Regions from separate parts of the Homo sapiens genome. Here regions 1, 2 and 4 are each linked to region 3. Evidence: promoter capture Hi-C in 16 types of primary human blood cells and fetal thymus (Javierre and others, 2016). All regions are on one chromosome and are shown on one strand. The core of a region is centred on a gene start or on the middle of the fragment in contact, and the rest is flanking DNA. Distances in the headings are between cores, read along the strand shown.

Region 1 (2,700 bases), core at 128-2,627, 2.1 Mb after region 3:
TCAGCTGACTACAAATTATGGGATTCCTGCAGCTTTCCAAGAACGGCTCACAGTACTCAGGAAAGACTGTTCTTAAGCAATTTCAGTTTTATAAAGGACACAACTCAGAAACAGCCAAATGGAGGAGACATAGGGCAAGGTGTGAAAGGGCTTCTGTATCCTCTGGTGCAGCACCTTCCCAGCATATCAGTATGTTCAACAATCTAGAAGCTCCCCAAACCTCATTATTCAAGAGTTTTCATTGAGCTTTCATTACATAAATACATAATTGAGTAAATTATTGTCCGCTGGTCACTGGGCTCAATCTGTCCCTTACCTCCCCTAAGGTCAGGGCCTAGGGCTGAAATTTGTGACTCTTCCCCCCCACCCCACCCCCCTCCCAACACACACACACACAGACGGAGTCTCACTCTCTTGCCTAGGCTGTAGTGCAGTGGCCCAATCTTGGCTCACCACAACCTCCACCTCCTGGGTTCAAGTGATTCTCCTGCCTTGGCTTCCTGAGTAGTTGGGATTACAGGGCACACCCCCACACTTGACTAATTTCTTTGTATTTTAGTTAGAGACAGAGTTTCACCATGTTGGCCAGGCTGGTCTCGAACTCCTGACCTCAAGTGATCCGCCCAGCTCGGCCTCCCAAAGTGCTGGGATTACAGGCATGAGCCACCATGCCTGGCTGAAATCTGTAGCTCTTTATAATCTAGTGGTTGGTTTTTCTGGCAACCAGCTTCCAGAAGATGCCTTCAAACCTGAAGCTACCTAGGTGCCCTACCTTGAGTCCCTTCATCAGCCTAACAAGGATACCCTATCACTTAAGAAATTCTAGGAGTTTTTGAATCTGTATCTGAAACCAAGGACAAAAGACTAAATATATTTTTTATTATACCACAGGGCATACAGATAATAAAAATGTATATGTCATGAGGAGTGATATAAAATAGTAAAGGGCAAGCCCACTAACATACAAAATGTAGAACAGAGGTAGTTCCATTTGGGGAACTAGTTTGTTAGTTAATCACATAGTTAATGGGATTCCCCTGACTGGGCAGAGGGTGGTCGGCAAGTCACTTAATATTTTTGAATATTAAATGATAGGATTCTGGTGGGTTGTAAATAACCAATGAAAACTTGAGGTTCTCTGTGACATTTAAAATTAAGCTATGCAGTAATTGAGGATGCTTTGCAAGACCTTTGACAATATTATAAAGAATTGAAAACTCATCCTATTTTCCAGTTACCTGTAAAACCAGATGCCAATTTGCCATTAAGTTTGGAAAATGACAAATACTAGTCTTTGTTATATATGAACATACTATAGTAGACTTAGCACTTATTTATTTGAGTACCACTTTTAAGACTTGGCCCTACCCTCCTAAGCTCTTTGTCCCCACTTTTGATTGTCATAGCCATAGTGTGTTTTATATTTATATAAATAGAAAATGTTTTATATTTGCTTTCTTAAATCACCTGGAAATTTGCATGATTTTTAACATGGAAGTAAAATCTTTAATTTTAAATAAGATTTAAATACAGTGCAGGTATTTCGATAGCCTTTGTTTCAGGAGATTGTTTACTGTTTTAAATATTCATTGTGCTCTTGTACTTTTATGAACACGGATTATTCTGGTAAATGTAAATCTTCAAAGGTAAGAATTGAAAAACATAGTTTGCTGTGGCCGTTTGAGGAAGGAAAGTGGATGAACATTTTGAATAGCTGGTAGTCATATCTTCCACCTTAGCCCTCAGCTTCTTAGTTACTTCCCCCAGTCTAGGACCATCTGTCAGTAGGAAGTCGCCTACAACAAATAAAACTCCACAGTTAGCATCTCCTGGGTTGAAATTATTATGTGGAATCCTAAATTTAACAGAATCTCATTCATGACAGAATGGTGTACTGTGGAAATAAAGTTTTATGTTTGAGTGTTTGATGGGCCTTAATGTTTTCTAATTATTTTCTTTTTTGTTAATTAAATGTAAAGTATTTGAGGCAAGGACAGTGCCTTATTTTCTTTCTGGAGTTTTGAATACTATAAATATTCAAGTAGTAGTTTGTGGATGGGGAATAGAGTAATTCAGTCATTTGTAGCAGTTTCTGGTCCTGTAAAAATAATGTTTTTATTTTTCTGAACGTATATTTCACAGTATATATTTTTAACTGCGGTATTTACATTCATTGTATCATTTAAGTATTTCTGCACAGCATTTGTATTCAAGTTGTATGAACATTATTTTCTTCTTGTGTCTGGCATATGGCTATATTCAGACTAATATGAAACACTTTAAAAGTTGTATTTCTTTAATGATTGAATTGTATTGTTTCTAGTCAGTGGATTTTTTCTGTTGTCTGTATGGACAGTCAATCTCAGTCATAAATATTTGTGATTTAAATCTGCTATTTGTGGTTCACACTTTTGAAAGGTAATTTGTGTCTTTATTTTTTAGAACAGCTTTGCTGAGCCATCAAGGTCTAATGGAAGCATGGTTCGGCATTCTTCATCTCCATATGTAGTATATCCTTCGGATAAGCCTTTCCTTAATAGTGATCTACGACGCTCCCCAAGTAAGCCTACACTTGCCTATCCAGAAAGCAACAGCAGAGGTAATCGAGCCTAACGAAATAAATGTTATTTGTGTTTTCTTGCTGCTTTAAAATTCTTAACTTTGTCCTCCATTATTTTGCCATTAGAGGAAAATATATTT
Region 2 (2,700 bases), core at 62-2,561, 2.7 Mb after region 3:
GGCATTCCCTTAATTTTCTAGTGAAAGTTAGAGATAACTGAACAGACTGAAGCACTTTTCTGAAATCTTTTGCTTGATTTATGAAGGCTGCCATAGTTATCTTTTCTTGTGTTAACCATCTTAAATGATGTTTTGTATATTTTAATAGACTGATAGGATGAGAAAGATTTATATTATTAGATTTCAGGATGATTTATAATAATTCAAAAATGAAATTCAATAATGGGGAAATAATTATGAATTATAGAAATTATGCCTTCATTCTCTTACATTTGTGTGGGTTGCAAGAGGGGGAGATTATTCTGGAAATGAAGTAAATATGGGAAGTTATTGCCAAATGAGAGAGAAACTATGGGAAAGCTGATCTATAAAGAGGCATTCTGATCAATTCATTTGTAGGAAACTGGGAAATAAAAACCTGGGGAACTTTAGGTTATTTATACAAAGGGAATAAATAGGCTGATTTTAATTTGGTAAGTTGATCTTTTTATTATGAATTTGGTAATAGTATAGGTTTATTATTTATTCATCTAATTTTATAGTACAGGTTTTGTAATGTTACATGTGATGATATGAGCTCCCACCTTATATGGGGGAACATCTTGGGAATTTGAGATTTAATAAGTTTTTTTTTTTTTTTTTTTAGTGTTTTTACTGCATACTCACAAATGTTGTCTATAATTTGAAAAATATTGTCATATCTGGCCCTTTGATGAGAAAAGGAAATTACAATAATAAAGTTTTATGATTTTAAATAAGTCATATGTTTGTATCCTGTTTTATGAAGAAAGCAGAAATAATTACTGAAAGTGCCAGACACTAAGGAATATTATTGTTTATTATTTTAATACATATAAAAAGGGATTAATCTGCTAAAATGTAATCTAAATCAGAATTTTGATAAATTTTTTTTGTAAACTAAGTATGTTTATTCAAGACATTGAAACTACTTTGCACATATGAATATTAATGTAACTTGTAATTTAAAAGTAAAGTGTTTCCATGCTATTTCATGTTTTGGCCAAAAATTTTTAAAAAATAAATTACAATTGTTCTCTATTAGTCATTTTTTAAAGGTTTAACTTTTTTTGTTGAAATACGTAACATTTTATAGTGCTTTCTGTAGAATACTAAAACTTCAAAAGTATTTTTAGTTTTCCATAATTTCTCTTATTTTCATGATAGGTGTATGTCTATATTTTTCAGAAGATGTGTGATGAAAGTGTTTAAAAATAGTGTTTATTGCATGAATTTCCTCAGTGTAGAGTGTGAAAAACCATCAGAAGTTAACATACATATTGAATCAGATAATGACACGTTCTGCTATAAAGTAAGCTGTACATAAAATAATTTTTCTAAAATGAAAATATGTACTACAGATCTTGGAATTTCTGTCTGGATTTGCACAGTTTTTAAAATTAATCATGTCAGCCCAATGCAGCTGTGTCATTGCCACCTAGTGGTAAAACTAACATTACTGTTAAGCTGTGTGATTTTAAACTTGAATCCCCAGTAAAAGGTTCACTGTTCTGTGGCCATAAGTGTGAATCTTGTGACTCTTTCTCTAGCCTGTAAGAGACTGCTCTTCTTTGGTTTACAGCTATTCTCTGAAATCTGCCAACACTGGTACTCTAGCCCTGTTTTGGATCCTTCTATCCTTAATTATAAAGGCTGATCAGTAGTTGTAGCAGTTGAAGCCAAAAGCTATTTGGGTTCTGTATCTGCCCCCAAAGTTGTATATCCTTAGCTCCTAATTCCTATTCTATCAGTGCCTTACCAGAGGCTGTGTTTGGCATTCTATTTATCTATTTAAAAATTTGCCATTGGCTTATGTTCTCTCACCAGTTTCATGAATTTTTTTCTCATTGATATGCCTTGACACAATACTCTCAGAAAGCCAATAACAGTGCAATGTTTCTTACACTTCCAGTAGTCAAGAATTTTGTGAGAGCAGATATACCTAATACAAGATCATGTAGGAAATTATAATGTTGCTTTTTTTTCTGAGAGATTTGGGCTTTTTTGTGGCGAGGGGGTTGTAGAAAGTTGAATTCTTTGTCATGATGAAATCCAGTAAATTAAAAATTTATTGAGTTTTACTGTATGTCGAAGACTGCCAGCTGTGGTGGGTTTAGGAAAATATGAAAGAAAGGGAAGAGGTTGCTTTCCTTGAACATCTTGAAATCAAGGTGGAAAAACTATACATGTTTGAAAAAAAAAAAAACCCCAAAACCATCTGCCTCAATTGTAAGCTCATATAAAAGAACCAACATAACAAGATGTGAGCTATGTAAAAAAACCATCAAGATTTAGTTGCTTATTCATTTCTCCTCTGATTTCTATTCTGTATACCCTTTACATTCTAAGCTATGCATTGGTCTTGATTTTTGCTGCTCCTGAGTGACTTCATCCTTTTCCCTTATCTGCATGTGATCCAGTCACCCTGTCTGGCTCTATGATTTATATATTCAATTGAGAAATTGGACTTAGTCTAGAAGGGAAATTAAAATTAATGCTTTGCTTCCCATCCATAGTGAACTCTCCATTAGCATCATAATGTCAGAGCCACCCAGATGGGTTAAGAAGTTCAAATAATTATTTAACTCAGTTGTTGACATCTCTACTCATATCAAAATTATTATACCTCCTTATGCCACTCATAAGTGTCAAAATACAGCTCAGCTGCCTTGGTCTGAAGTA
Region 3 (2,700 bases), core at 137-2,636:
GACCAACCTGGGCAACGTGGTGAAACTCCGTCTCTACAAAAAATACGGAAATTAGCCAGAATAGTGGCGCGCGCCTGTGGTCAGGAGGCTGGGGTAGGTGGAATACCTGAGCCTGGGAGGTGGAGCTTGTATGTAGTGAGCCTCAGCAACACAAGGAGACCCTTGTCTCTACAAAAAATTCTTAAAATACTGGCTAGGTGTGTTGGCCCGTGCCTTTGCTCCCAGCCACTCGGGAGGATCGCTTAAGCCGCGGTGGAGGTTGCTGTTAGCCGAGATTGCACCACTGCACTCCAGCCTGGACGACAGAGCAAGACCCTGTCTCAGGAAAAAAAAAAAAAAAAAAAAAAAAAAAAAAAAAGGCATGGCAACAAAAATTAAAGATAACTACTTATTTCATTATTGTACATGCCTTAGTCAATCTCTTGTCTCATTCTGTAGCTTCTTGGGACCTGACATGAGTCATTACATATAAATCCTAGGATGAACTAGCAAAATATTTAAAATATGAAACGATAAGGTCACCAAGAGCTCAGATTTGTTAAATGCCCCCTGTGGTATTTTCCTGGTACAAGGTCTTACTAGTTTTTTTAAGTACAAGATTCTACAAAGTCATTAAATATCGAATGCTCAAAAACGGAATTCAACAAAAATTTGCCCCCATGCTTTAACGGTATACCTGTAGTTAATTTTTTTTAAAAGTAGGGATTATCAAAATAAAGCTAGCTCAATAATCACTTTTTCGAAGTGTTTAGAAGACACTCCTACTTGGGTGTCGATGCCTCCGTGGGGATTCTGCAATTCTTAGAGGCCACGTGGGCAGAGAGCGGCGCTTTACCCGGAGCTAACGCTGTGACCACCAGCGCCTCTCACCCGGCAGCGCCTAACCTGCAGAAAACCGGCGCGAGTAATGGGTACCTCACATACGAAGGTTAAATCATTTAAATCACGTAATAAGGTTAAACTTGTCCGCAACACGATTTAACACCTCCATCTCAAGATATAATGAAGCCCGTCCACACTACAACCACGTTTGTGTGGGACTCATACCAGCCGCGTGGCGCGGAGTGGCCTGCGGCCGTGATCCCTTCACCCTCTCGGACCGACTTCGGAGTCTCGATCCTCCGGACCAACGAAGGGGCCCCGGGAAACCCCAGATATGCAACGCCTCCCCCGCCCGCCAGGCCCGGACGGCCTCGCCCTCTTAGCAACCTACCTAAAACGGCCTCGCAGTGGCCCCAACCGCGCACTTGCTGCTTGTAACCCAGGCCTCGGCCCAAAACCCGCGACTGGCCTGGTGTCCTAGAGCTCTGTACACACCACCCTCCCGACCTCAGCCCTCCAACTCCCGATAACCAGCCGACCTCCTCCAACCGTGCGGAAGAAAAGGGTTGGCTATTTCCGTGGCCCAAGTAATAGTCAGGCCGAAATCTCGCGATACAACTTAGCTTCCGGGAAGAAGGCGAGCGGTGGGAGGAGACGCGACGTGGGGGCGCCATTTTTCTCGCCGCGCAGGGAGGACTGACTAACGTGGGCGGAGCTCTAGCTCGCGTATTCTGAGGAGGCGGGGTTGGCCTAGGCGAAGATCCGGACTCTGGGTGTTTTGCTACCGTGACCGTTTAGGTGAGTGGAATAGCCAAGAACATTTCGGCAAATAACAAAAACAAAACGTGCGGTCACTTGTGAGTGGATGAGAACTGTGAGGAAACAGCCTCTCAGCCCGGTTCGTTTCCGGTGGTCTCGCGTTTGCTGAGCTGTCGCCTGGCTTTCTAAATCTGGTCCCGGGTGTGTGGCGAGGGTGACGGGTGGGATGTGTGCCTGAGTGTTTTGTAATCCTTTGTCTATTTCTGCCTTCAGAAACCCTTGTGTGTTAAAATATTGGAGAAGGCTCATTCTTTGACCATGACTCGAAGTGTGTAACCTTTGTGCTGGACGCCAGTGTTATTCCATAGCACGCCCAGGTCTCCTCCCCACTTTTGCACCTGTTTCGTAAGCTCACCCTTTCTGCCTCCCAGGAGTTGGCTAACATGTCACAAGTGAGACCTGTGGAGGATTTGTTTTTCCTAAGTTTCCTCCTACATCCCCCCTGCCCCACACCATTAGTTCCTTGACCGGTTCCTGAGTTAAGATTAAACAGTGTAAACTAGTTTAGTTTTGGTGGGGTTTTTTTCTCCCAAAGTAATTTTTTTTTTTTTGAGACCGAGTTTCGCTCTTGTTGCCCAGGCTGGAGTGCAACGGTGCGATCTTGGCTCACCGCAACATCTGCTTCCCGGGTTCAAGCGATTCTCCTGCCTCAGTCTCCCCAGTAGCTGAGATTACAGGCGTGCGCCACCATGCCCAGCTAATTTTTGCATTTTTAGTAGAGGCGGGGGTTTCTCCATGTTGGTCAGGCTGGTCTCAAACTCCCGACCTCAGGTGATCCTCCCGCCTCGGCCTCCCAAAGTAATTTTAAAAAGGAATGAACTGGTTTGATTTTTCCGCTTTCAAAATTCTGTTTTCATATGATAAACCACAAAAATCAGTAAAGCTGTCTAGTCTTATTTTATAGTTCACATTTTAGGATTGAACGGGCCTTAAAAGTAATCTGGTCTCTTTACCTGCTTTGCTCCATAGTTTGGACAATTCCGGGGATAAAAAGTCCGATCCTTTAGGCAGCCCACTGCATTTGATCCACAGGGTCTGGGCAATGACGAAGCTCCAGGA
Region 4 (2,700 bases), core at 85-2,584, 2.0 Mb after region 3:
CAATTTCAAATTCAGTATCAATTTCAAATTTTGAGTCTGCAAATTTGACTCAAAAAGATCTCCACTAGATCTGTTAAGTTATATTTATCTAAAAATGTTTATACTGATACAAAATAGTTAAAATGTGAATCTCCAAGTTCTTATCTCAATTATCAAGAAATAAAGTGTTTATAATTTTCATATTTTAAGTACAAAATACAATAATTTGAACATTAGGTCTTCAAAGCAATTTTTCCATTTAATGCTTTGGTAGCTAATTTCCAATTTGCTTTTAATATATTTATATCACTAATAAAGATATTTCTTAATAAATTACATAAGACAAAAGTCTTTATGGTAAATAAATAACACAATTGTTAAGTACAAGTCCAAATTATTCTAATTTGAATACTTTAAAAATGAATTTTATGCCATATTTCAATATATGTACATTTAAATTGTTTTATCCTAAAATTACTTCATTTTGCAGCCAGCCAAAAAAAAAAAAAAAAATCAATGAAATTCTTTACAGACTCTTAAGAAAGCTAAGTTTTAAAGTTTAGACATGTTGGTGCAAAGGAAAGAATATCAGGATTAAGAATTACATAGATCCTGCTTTAAATCCTGGCTTACTTACCAGCTACATAACCTGGAGCATATTTTCTCATTTGTAACACAAACTCCACCATCCGAACTCAAAATGAGTTGAAGGAACTTATCAAATATATAAAACACTTAGCCTAACACAGTTCCTGGTACACAGAAGGCACTCAAATGTTAGGTCCCTTTTCCTTTTAACCACTTACCTAATTAAGTGAATAAGAGTTTTAACTTGATATTCTTAGTATTTTCAATATTTGGGGTATTTTGGGGTGACATTTTGAACAATTTTTTCATGTGATGTTCAGTGTTTTGTCGTAGGTTTGGCAGTTAAAAATATTTTACTAGCTATTAGAGCAAGATCCATCTTGTGTCACAGGATTCAATTCCTTATTACATAAAGATAAAAAAAAAATTACCGGTTTCCTCACCTCAGTAAAGAATCCTACTAGTATCACTTGGTTGCTAAAGGAAGTGAGGTAAAAAGATGGCACTCAGCTATGACAGATTGTCTCTAGCCATAACACAAAAAAATCAGGGAAGTGGCCTGATAGGAAGGATGAAATAGAAAACCTGAGGAACCTGAAGTGGTGGGAACTAGTGTAGGACAGGGAAAAGTATAGATAAACTGGAGTGAGAAGACAGAGATTTCTACGTCACCGCTTACTGTGTGATCACAGTTTCCTCTGTAAAATGGGCATATCACATAACCCAGTTTTTGCAACAAGTAAGACAGCATATGTAAAATCATGTCAAAATGTCCTATTTAAATATTGGTTACTTTTATACTACATGAAACTTCAATTACCAAGAGGAGGTAGGCCTAAGATATCTATCAGGCTAAGTCAAAGATGACCCCATGTATTTGCAACTATGATTTTAAAAAAGAAAAACCAACACACAAACTGCTCTTTTGAACAGTGGGGAGCACTAAGTTAAAACATATCTGAGCACCTATTGCAGTTATTCTGTTATCTCATTCTGGATTTACTTCAGAGCTTTGGTTACATTACATTAAATCAAAGATCACCAGGTGGAAGATTTTGTTCCAGGTAATCATTCAGCATTAATAACTGAGTAAGAAAAACAGGAATAACATAAAATTAAAAATAATACTTGCTGGTGGATAAAAACATTGACTAATATATAAGAATCTGATATATGATACGGGCAATCTCTCAGAACAGAGGGCTGATGGGCATTTCCATAAATCACCACCTAGTCAACAAATTATTTGAATGCCTACTATGTCTCAGGTTCTACATGAGGTTCCTTTTTCAACAGTCTTTGTAATAGTATGATAGGGATTAAGACCAGATAATCTGTACCTCGAATTTGAGCAAGTTCCTAAATCCTACTAATTTAAGCTACTTGCAAAGAAGTATGAATAATACAAAACCAAAAGAAAGAAATAGCAAATATCCTTTGGTGTTACAATGTGAAAAAAAAAAAACAAAATGAAACAGGACAGTATTAACTCCTTCCTTCTGAAGCTGTACTCTCCCAAGTCTGACGTCTGTGTGCTGCCATCTTCCATTAACATTTAAAACTTCTTTCACCTTAAAAATTTTGTTACTAAAGACTAATTTTACAAATGTGAGACTGTATAAATCAAAGAGAACATGTAATTAATTTAGTGTGGTCTGATTTCTAAATGTATGAAACCTAGAAGAGAAGCAGCTTAATATGGTAGCATTCTGTATCCATGTTGGATGTTCACCATCTCTGCATGCCAGACATCAGATTATTACTGTGGTGACTCTTGACTTTACCATTCAGTTGTTCTGTATACTTAAACTGCTACTTTGCAGTACTCTGAGGTTCAGGTGGATCACTACCTGTTAGCATTTAGCAGAACCCTATTTGGCACTTTGCGAACCACTGTACACAGGTTAAGTAAACTCTCTTGCTTTGCACACATTTTTGCCACTCCAGGTCCTTAAGAATTGGTTTTATACACCCATCTCCTTTCCCATTATCTGGAAGGAAATATTAATGTGAGGAATGATTGCTACTGAAGACCTGCTTTTCACCTTAGTTTCATTAATCTGATTTTTAATTTTTTGCTATAAGCCCAATAATTAATTGAACACACTCCAATGATACCCTCCTCCAAAAACT

The links. Contacts are between HindIII fragments. The CHiCAGO score rates a contact against its expected background, and 5 or more counts as called.
Region 1: a fragment that was not itself captured here is called in contact with the fragment with the promoter of TAF1D in region 3 in 1 of 17 cell types (total CD8 T cells); the score reaches 7.3 in total CD8 T cells.
Region 2: a fragment that was not itself captured here is called in contact with the fragment with the promoter of TAF1D in region 3 in 2 of 17 cell types (non-activated CD4 T cells and total CD8 T cells); the score reaches 10.4 in non-activated CD4 T cells.
Region 4: a contact is called between a fragment that was not itself captured here and the fragment with the promoter of TAF1D in region 3, in 1 of 17 cell types (total CD8 T cells). The highest score is 7.5, in total CD8 T cells.

Annotation. Positions count from the first base shown.
Region 1 is chr11:95,796,790-95,799,489 of GRCh38, forward strand. It overlaps CEP57 (centrosomal protein 57), which reads left to right. Exons shown (of 11, transcript NM_014679.5): 2 at 2,443-2,599. Among named protein-coding and RNA genes, the nearest start is that of CEP57, 7.6 kb to the left of the region's middle. The HindIII fragment of the contact is 3,381 bases long and covers 1-2,700 here.
Region 2 is chr11:96,392,500-96,395,199 of GRCh38, forward strand. It overlaps JRKL (JRK like), which reads left to right. Exons shown (of 2, transcript NM_001261833.2): 2 at 1-1,062. Among named protein-coding and RNA genes, the nearest start is that of JRKL, 3.8 kb to the left of the region's middle. The HindIII fragment of the contact is 6,237 bases long and covers 1-2,700 here.
Region 3 is chr11:93,740,109-93,742,808 of GRCh38, forward strand. It overlaps TAF1D (TATA-box binding protein associated factor, RNA polymerase I subunit D), which reads right to left and starts at 1,387. Exons shown (of 6, transcript NM_024116.4): 1 at 1,214-1,387. It overlaps C11orf54 (chromosome 11 open reading frame 54), which reads left to right and starts at 1,564. Exons shown (of 9, transcript NM_001286069.2): 1 at 1,564-1,620. RefSeq lists enhancers at 1,047-1,556, 1,685-2,370, 2,137-2,256. The HindIII fragment of the contact is 24,379 bases long and covers 1-2,700 here.
Region 4 is chr11:95,772,984-95,775,683 of GRCh38, forward strand. All of the region lies in intron 9 of FAM76B (family with sequence similarity 76 member B), which reads right to left. Among named protein-coding and RNA genes, the nearest start is that of FAM76B, 15 kb to the right of the region's middle. The HindIII fragment of the contact is 4,010 bases long and covers 1-2,700 here.